Linked DNA regions of Homo sapiens: region 1 is linked to region 2. The links are contacts of gene promoters, found by promoter capture Hi-C in human tissues and cell types (Jung and others, 2019). All regions are on one chromosome and are shown on one strand. The core of a region is centred on a gene start or on the middle of the fragment in contact, and the rest is flanking DNA. Distances in the headings are between cores, read along the strand shown.

Region 1 (4,685 bases), core at 477-2,976, 1.0 Mb before region 2:
CATATTACCCACCCTGCTCTGGCCCACCAGCCCCACTCCCTGGGTACAGAGTCACACCCACTCACCCTTCCACCAACAGTCCAGGTCACACAACAGCAGTCAGTGTAATAGACTGCTACATAAACACTCAGTCTCACAATCACCTGTGGGTTTTTGGTTCCATTCAACTTGGGTTTTTAACTTTACAGGGTCAGCTCTGCTTCACCCCTGCTTTTGTATGGAGTTCCATCTGGGGGGATTTCGCCCCCTGTTCCAGTCCTGAGGCCTCCTGACCCTGACATTGTGATACACTCCACAGAGATCTGTTTCTTACATTATTATTATTGGAAATAATTATTGTAATATTATTATGTAATAAATTTATAAGAAAAAATCCCAACAGGATTCATTTTTACACTAAAAATTGAATATTTTGACATTTGTATTTAATAGAAGAAATGCAAATAGTTGTAAATGTATGAAAAGATGTTCCCCATCACTAGAATGCATTCATTTAGTTCATATAGTGCTTAATATATGTCAGGCACTGCTCTAAGCACCAGGCATCATTCTAAGTCTTTGCAAATGTTATCTCAATTAATCCCAATAATAATCCTATGTGGCAAGTGGTATTATTTTCCCCATTTTTGATGGGAAAGATGAAACTGAAGCACAGAGAATTTATGTAATTTGTGAAGACCACACAGTATGCAGCTAGTACACTGCACAGCCAGGGAACTGGGTCCTAGGTCCATGCTGTTAAGATACTATGCCATGCAATCTTGCCAGGGAAATGCAGGTTCAAACATGATACCATTTTCTACCCATCAGGTCGGCAAAAAAATTTAAATATTGGTAACATCAAGTGCTGGTAAGGATGGGGGCAAATAAATCCTCATATATTCACTCATATATTGTTGCAGCATTTTTTGAAGGTAATCCTGCAGTATGCACTAAAACTTAAAGTACATAAAACCCTCTGTGCAACATTCCACTTTGGGTACTCTAGCCTACAAGAATAAAAGCATCAGTAGAAAAGGCATAATGAAAGTGCAGCATTGCTTGTGGTGATGGCAAAACTGGAAATAAGTGTCTATCACAGGAGCTATGGCTGAATAAATTAAGTTAAGTTACATTCATATTATGGAATAGTATTCAGCTATTATGTGAGTTCAATCTGTATCTCTTGATCCAGAGAAAGTTGCAGTACTGTGTACAATACAATCTCACTTTTTTGTGTGAATTTTTTTAGCCTATTTGACAGTTACCTGAGGAAGTAGGATAGAGCAGAGGAATTACCATCTATATATGTTTATGAATTGTTTGACTTTTTATATAAGCTCATATTGTCTTTACAATTTAAACATCTAATTAAGTTAAAAATACTTATAAATGTAAACATAATAACCAGCCTAGAAAATATGTTTTAGATCTTCAGCTTCACATAGAAAATTATATGAATAATATAGCTTTTCAAATCAAGTGGGAAAGACTCAGATTTGTATTTATAGATACCTCTTACACGTAGGCATTGCAACTTACAGTTTTCAGCAATTACAGAATAAACATTAATTTTCTTTAATGGGCATTTCTGGAAACAGAAAGCAAGAAGGAATAATTTGTTCATTCCTTGTCTAATAGTGTAACTAGACAAAGGAGAGTAATATCACTTTTAAAATCAGTGTATGCTCTACAATCTCTGTGTCTATTCCTTCCGTTCACACTCAAGTATAGAGAGAAGCCATGTTTAGGAGGAAAGTAGAGGGGCTGGTGACATTGAAAGGTTTAAAAAACCCCTCCTTTGATAAAAGGGGAATTAGATACACATTTCTCTGGCTTTAAGTCCCTCTTTCTATGCTCCACGTTGTGTGCAAAGCTCAAAGAAGTAAAGTTGAAATCTGAACTAGTGGCTGAAAATGTTGAGTGCAGCAGGGGTGACAAACAGGAATCTGCCAGCATCATTTGATTTCTGGTTGTGTTAACCACAGGCCCTTCCTGGTCTGGTGAAATTTAAAGTGCTGCTGCCATCTTCAGGAGTTCCCCATTGTCATATTTAAGTATAGTTACAAGTAAGTTGTTTACAGCCTCATAACCCTCTGTGGGAGTTCAGAACCTCAGCTAGAAAACAGACACTCCAGGTGACTGCTAAACTGAAGGAAGCTTAAAGATCATTACCTGTAAGGCAGCTTTTAGTGTGTGTGTTTAATGTTATGAAATGGTATGTTTCTCCCTTTGAGAGGTAATACGAATTAAGATTTAGGGTCCAAAAAAGGACATGACCGAGAAGTGAGCCAAGACTTTAAAAAATAATGGGGGAGGAGGGTTAAGTTATAACACTATAACATTTTGGAAGCATCTACTGGCTTTGAAGACCTATTGAGTCAATCTCCCTGAGGACCACATGTTCAATTTCTACGGCAAACATTAAGTTTAGAGAACATTTGGTCAAAAGGAATCTGTGAGCTTCCATTTTTATATTATTTACTGAGAATTCTGAGCCTGTCTATCTTCTCAGATTGTTTGAGTTACAGATAATTGATAGGAAAGGCCAAATTGTCCAACAGTACTCTCAGGATGAAGCTCTACTTCTTTCCCAAAAATAATTCGACTTCATCACTTAGTGAAGAAAAATTAATGAAGTCCTAAGATGAAAATAAGGCCATCACACTATTTTTCTTCTTGATGATTAGAGATGCTGATACCCACAAATGGTCGTGGAAGTCCGTGAGAATGTGTATATCCCTGGTGGCCCTCAGGGAGGCAGTTGTCCGATCTTCAGGTCATGATACTACAATGTCATAAGCAAATGCTTTTTTTGAGACATTGAAGTTTTCATAAAGCTCACTTCACATTGTTCTTTTTTGTTTACTCATCATTTTAGGCAATCTTAAGTTCTCATAGCAAGTTGGAAAGTACCTTATACAGCCCATTTTTGCTGCTGATTTACATTATTAAAGCAAAGAGTAAAATTCCTTTAAAGTCACCTTTAGAAAAATTTCACATCATTTTAGGAGATATCCAAGTTTCCTTTCATCACAAATAATTAAAAAGTGGATATGGCATCACGCTACCTGACTTCAAACTATACTACAAGGCTACAGTACCAAAACAGCATGGTACTGGTACCAAAACAGAGATATAGACCAATGGAACAGAACAGAGCCCTCAGAAATAATGCCGCATATCTACAACCATCTGATCTTTGACAAACCTGACAAAAACAAGAAATGGGGAAAGGATTCCCTATTTAATAAATGGTGCTGGGAAAACTGGCTAGCCATATGGAGAAAGCTGAAACTGGATCCCTTCCTTACACCTTATACAAAAATTAATTCAAGATGGATTAAAGACTTACATGTTAGACCTAAAACCATAAAACCCCTGGAAGAAAACCTAGGCAATACCATGCAGGACATAGGCATGGGCAAGGACTTCATGTCTAAAACACCAAAAGCAATGGCAACAAAAGCCAAAATTGACAAATGGGATCTAATTAAACTAAAGAGCTTCTGCACAGCAAAAGAAACTACCATCAGAGTGAACAGGCAACCTACAAAATGGGAGAAAATTTTTGCAACCTACTCATCTGACAAAGGGCTAATATCCAGAATCTACAATCAATTCAAACAAATTTACAAGAAAAAACAAACAACCCCATCAAAAAGTGGGTGAAGAATATGAACAGACACTTCTCAAAAGAAGACATTTATGCAGCCAAAAGACACATGAAAAAATGCTCATCATCACTGGCCATCAGAGAAATGCAAATCAAAACCACAATGAGATACCATCTCACACCAGTTAGAATGGCAATCATTAAAAAGTCAGGAAACAACAGGTGCTGGAGAGGATGTGGAGAAATAGGAACACTTTTACACTGTTGGTGGGACTGTAAACTAGTTCAACCATAGTGGAAGTCAGTGTGGCGATTCCTCAGGGATTTAGAACTAGAAATACCATGTGACCCAGCCATCCCATTACTGGGCATATACCCAAAGGACTATAAATCATGCTCCTATAAAGACACATGCACACGTATGTTTATTGTGGCACTATTCACAATAGCAAAGACTTGGAACCAACCCAAATGTCCAACAACGATAGACTGGATTAAGAAAATGTGGCACATATACACCATGGAATACCACGCAGCCATAAAAAACGATGAGTTCATGTCCTTTGTAGGGATGTGGATGAAGCTGGAAATCATCATTCTCAGCAAACTATCGCAAGGACAAAAAACCAAACACCGCATGTTCTCACTCATAGGTGGGAATTGAACAACGAGAACACATGGACACAGGAAGGGGAACATCACACTCCGGGGACTGTTGTGGGGTGGGGGGAGAGGGGAGGGATAGCATTAGGAGATATACCTAATGCTAAATGATGAGTTAATGGGTGCAGTACACCAACAAGGCACGTGTATACATATGTAACAAACCTGCACATTGTGCACTTGTACCCTAAAACTTAAAGTATAATAATAATAAAATAAAATAAATACATAAAATAAATAAAAAGAAAAAAAACAAAATGAAGTGTCAGGAAAAATTTAAAAAAAAGTGGATATGGAATGAGATGATTATAATATGTATCTAGCACCATGATAGATATATCATCAGCATGGCACTTCAGAAACTTTGCTGTATATAGCAGATTGTTTGTGTCTTCTGAAATTTTCCCTTGGAGTTATTCATTTCTTC
Region 2 (4,250 bases), core at 433-2,932:
CCGGCCTATCAGTTCAGCCACAGTGGCAAGTGGGCGTGGCGCTTTGTACTGCTCTATCCAGTCTGACCCTTGATCTGGCATCAGCTTCTACCCTCCTTGCTTACTGTTTACAGCAAACAGCCACCGCTCTCCTGTACCAAATAACGTGCAACATCATGTGGACACATTTTGTGGGGAAAATGAAAGTGATGTGAGACTTTAGGGCTGATCCAGCCACCCCGGGAGGCAATGAAAGGAAGGGCCCCTCATCCCTCTTCATTCCCCTCCCAAAGCTGAAAACTCAGTAGAAGAACCAGAAAGCTCAGCCCTGGATTTATATGTCTCTTTGCTATGCCATCATAGCAGTATAAATGGTTAGTGTTAATGTCATTGTTCAAATTACGCTCTGTGTGGTGGCTCACGCCTGTTATCCCAGCACCTTGGGAGGCTAAGGTGGGCAGATGACTTAAACCCGGGAGTTCAAGACCTGCCTGGGAAACATGGCGAAACCCTGTCTCCACAAAAAAATACAAAAATTAGCTGGGCATAGTAGTGGATACCTGTAGTCCCAGCTACTAGGGAAGCTGAGGTGAGAGGACCACCTGAGCCTGGGAAGTCGAGGCTGTGGTGAGCCAGGATTGTGCCACTGCACTCCAGCCTGGGTGACCCTGTCTCAAAAAAAAAAAAAAAAAAAAAAGGTCAAATCAGGAAAAAATTTTGAAATAACAAACTTCCTTTTGCAGCTGCTCTTTTGTTCATCTTCTACCATAATCCCAGGCACTGAGTTTTTGTTTGCACTCGTTTGCCCTGGGCCACCTGGGGTGGTGGGGAAGGACTGAGGAGGGGAGGTCAGAACATGCAGTTCCTGTCCCAGCTATTACTGGCTCTGGAGCTCTGGGCAAGCTACTTCATCTTTCTGGTCCTCAGTTTCCCCGTCTGTAATAGAGTGATGTCAGTACCCACCGTGTATGGCACTGGGGAGGCAGTAAAGGTTTGGGTCAACCTGAGTGGGTCTGATCCCGATCCTGGCTCCACCACCCACTGCCTTCACCGCCCCGAGCAAGTTCCCTAACTCCTCTGGGCTTCGTTTTCCCCCTTGATGAAAGCAGGGCTGCTGGGAGGATGACATGAGACAATATCCAGGGCTGGCCAACAGTAAGTGCTTAAGACACATAGTAGCATTCCTCCTTCACAGGTTGTAAATTACAGAGCACGCCTATATTATCTTAGTAAATATTATTTAAATATCATACCATTCATAATATTTTAACAAGTTTTAATTAAGACACACGCTTCAGTACCCCTGCCCCGACTCCATACTGCGCTAACCAAGTGGGATTCTCCTCCTTGCCTGTGCGCTGAGCCACCGCTTACCCCGCGTCCCCTCGGACATGCAGCTCTGCCCATCAGGGCCACAGGCGGCCCGGTCCCACCATGGGGGTTGGGGATGGGAACCAGAGCATGCCCGTTCCGGGGCGCGCGTCTGGCCCCGCTCTAGGGAGCCGCGTCGGCGGGGCCCCACCCGGGCAATGTCCCGAAGCTCGACGCGCACTCACCCTCTTGACCAGGAAGCCCTCCTTGAGCACGCCGTCCTCCATGTCGCCGCCCGCACGCCAGGGCCACCCCAGGTGCGCCTTCCCCGCGCCTCGCGCTCCTCGGCACCCGCGCAGCCCGCGCAGTCCGCGCCCACGGCGCCCAGGAAGCAGCTCCGACGCGGCAGGGCGACGCCTCCCTGGCGCGTGTCCAGAGCCTGAGGCCCCGGGGCAGGAAGTCAGACCAAGTCGGGATTTCTGACGTGACGTTTCCACCCAAAGGTGCTCCAGGGTCGGTGGTTGGTCCTCCAGGTACAGAGCGGCCAACCCCGCCCCATCCAGGTGCGCCCCGCGCCCCTCACTGTTCCAGTCTCTCTGCTCAGCGTCCTTCGCCAGGTGCTTCCCGGGCACTTAGCGCATTGCCCTCGAGGAACGCTTATCGAATTGAACATAACCGACAGGACTCCAGGATTTGGAGCCATTCCTGAGCTCATTGCAAGTAGGAGATGGGACAGTGGGTGAGCCGAAACTGGTATGGGAATTTTATCCTGGCCTCTGATGGGGGCAGAGAAGACCTCTCAGTAACAGGAAGGTCACAGTTTTAAGGCGGCAGGCACAGTTTGCAGGGCCCCCTGTCCGCAGGATATACCCCGCTCCCTCAAAAAAGATGAAGCCGAAAATTCCATCATTAAGGACAAAATTTAAGGGGGCACCAAGGAGTCCAGTAACCTAGACAAATTATATATAGAGAGAGATGATTGGTTTTTTGGGGTTTTTTGTTTGTTTTTTGAGACAGGGTCTTTCTCTGTCACCCAGGCTGGAGTGCAGTGGTGTGATCATAGCTCACTGCAGCCTTAAACTCTGGGCTTAAGATCCTCCTGCCTCAGCTCCCCAAGTAGCTAGGACTACAGGAGTGCACCACCATGCCTGGCTGGTTTATTTTTATTTTTCGTAGAGATAGGGTGTTGCTATGTTGCCCAGGCTGGTCTTGATTCCTGGCCTCAAGCAATCCTCCGGCCTGGGCTTCCCAAAGTGCTGGGATTACAGGCAAGAGCCACCGTGTAAGACCTAGAAAAATAATATTTTAATGCATTTTTTAAAATCAAAATTAATGTCAAAAAATCCACGATGAACAAAATGCTAACATTTTAAATAGATAGGATCAACAACAATGTTCTATCAGGCCATATTGGAGCCTGGAACAGAAGGAAACTCAGTCAAATAGTACTGATTCTGTCTAACAATCCTTAGAACACAGTCACACATTTTTTTAAAATTTATTTTTATTTATAGAGACAGGGTCTCACTATATTGTCCAGACTGGTCTCGAACTCCTGGGCTCAAGCAGTCCTCCTGCCTCAGCCTCCCAAAGTGCTGGGATTGTGGGCATGAGTCATGGGGCCGGTCCATATTATTTGTGCTCCAGTTTGAAGGGCCCTGTCAGGACTCTTCACCAGGCATGGGAAAGGCCCTCAGATGCCTGTAAGGGAAGAGAAGGCTCTAGAGAGGAAGAAGGTGAACCAGCTTGTGGAAGGCGGGGGGTGCCTTTCAGAACCAGACTGAAGCCAGCTCCCAGGCCAGTCCCTGCCCTGGAGCTCTTGACACAGTGTTGCTTCTACATGTCTGTAGTAGACATATTACATCCCCCCAACCCCACTCCCACCTGCCAGCCCCAAGGAAAACTCGCAGGGTCTGGGTCACTGCGTGCCAGCCCAATGGCCCACTCTAGCCTTCTGCACTAACTGGCCTTCAGACTTCCCAGGAAGCCCCAAAGCAGTGGGGCTTCCATTCCAATTCAGAATGAACATCAGCTGGTCACCTTCTGAAGCCAGGCCTGTAGTAGTAGGTGCTAGGTTTTATCTAAAGTACAACAACCCCATGAGGTGTTTATTATGTCATTTTCCAGTCAAGGAAACTGAATCCAAGTAGTTAAATAACTTGCCCAAGGTTATGCAGCTCCAGGGCATTGCAAATACTCTTGCCTCCTAAGGAATTGTCCCAGCTCTGAAACCTAGCTGGGCTGAAAGCCAGGACTTGAGAGGTTGAGCTGGGAAGTTCTCATCCTCTTCGGCTCTAACTGTGGTCTATCCATCTCCTTCCTCAAAGAGGCTGTCTTGGCCCCACCCAGACACAATCTTCTGAGGCTTAGAAGAAGTGGCATTTTCTTTGGCAGGAGGGGTTCTTGAATGAATTCACAGAAATGGGAATGGGAAAGAGATGGATACCTTCTCCTGGCAGGGCTCCTGCCAGGAAGAAGTTAAGGCACACCTAGAACCTGCTTCCTGTCCTAGGAAACCCCTGGTCCAGCCCACCCTGCCTGACTCACTGGATCTGGGGCATGAGTCATACCCCTTCCTTCCCCAGGCTGTGGTGGCTGAGCCACCAGCCCACCAGGGAACCATGATGACATAAGCCCAACTCACCCATAGGGAAGAGGATGGAGACAGAAGGAAGCAGACAGCAGTAAACAGCTGGGGGAGGGGGCAGGGACGAGCAAGAAGCTTTCAGAGAGACACCCCTCCTCTCCCTCTCAGGCCTGGAGGCTGATGTGGAAGGGTCCCTGGCCCTCTCAGCTCCTCCCCTTTTTGTCCCGAAGGGACAGGGACAGATAATGCCTAGGGTGCTGAGTTGCAGAAAACTATTAGGTCTGTGTTTAAGTATAGGTGACTCACAGCCTGATGTGAGAATCTATCATTAGAGATTCATTCCTTTAGCTTCAGATAAGAATCCCCTGTTTAA

The links. The method cuts DNA at HindIII sites, captures the fragments that hold promoters and counts their contacts. A contact is called where the count stands out against the background at its distance.
Region 1: a fragment that was not itself captured here is called in contact with the fragment with the promoter of PLEK2 in region 2 in 1 of the 25 tissues and cell types used here (lymphoblastoid cells).

The regions. Positions count from the first base shown.
Region 1 is chr14:66,393,518-66,398,202 of GRCh38, forward strand. No RefSeq gene overlaps it. Among named protein-coding and RNA genes, the nearest start is that of CCDC196, 91 kb to the right of the region's middle. The HindIII fragment of the contact is 7,387 bases long and covers 1-4,685 here.
Region 2 is chr14:67,410,483-67,414,732 of GRCh38, forward strand. It overlaps PLEK2 (pleckstrin 2), which reads right to left and starts at 1,683. Exons shown (of 9, transcript NM_016445.3): 1 at 1,536-1,683. The coding sequence starts at 1,577. It also overlaps a transcript of GPHN not described here. The HindIII fragment of the contact is 7,301 bases long and covers 1-4,250 here.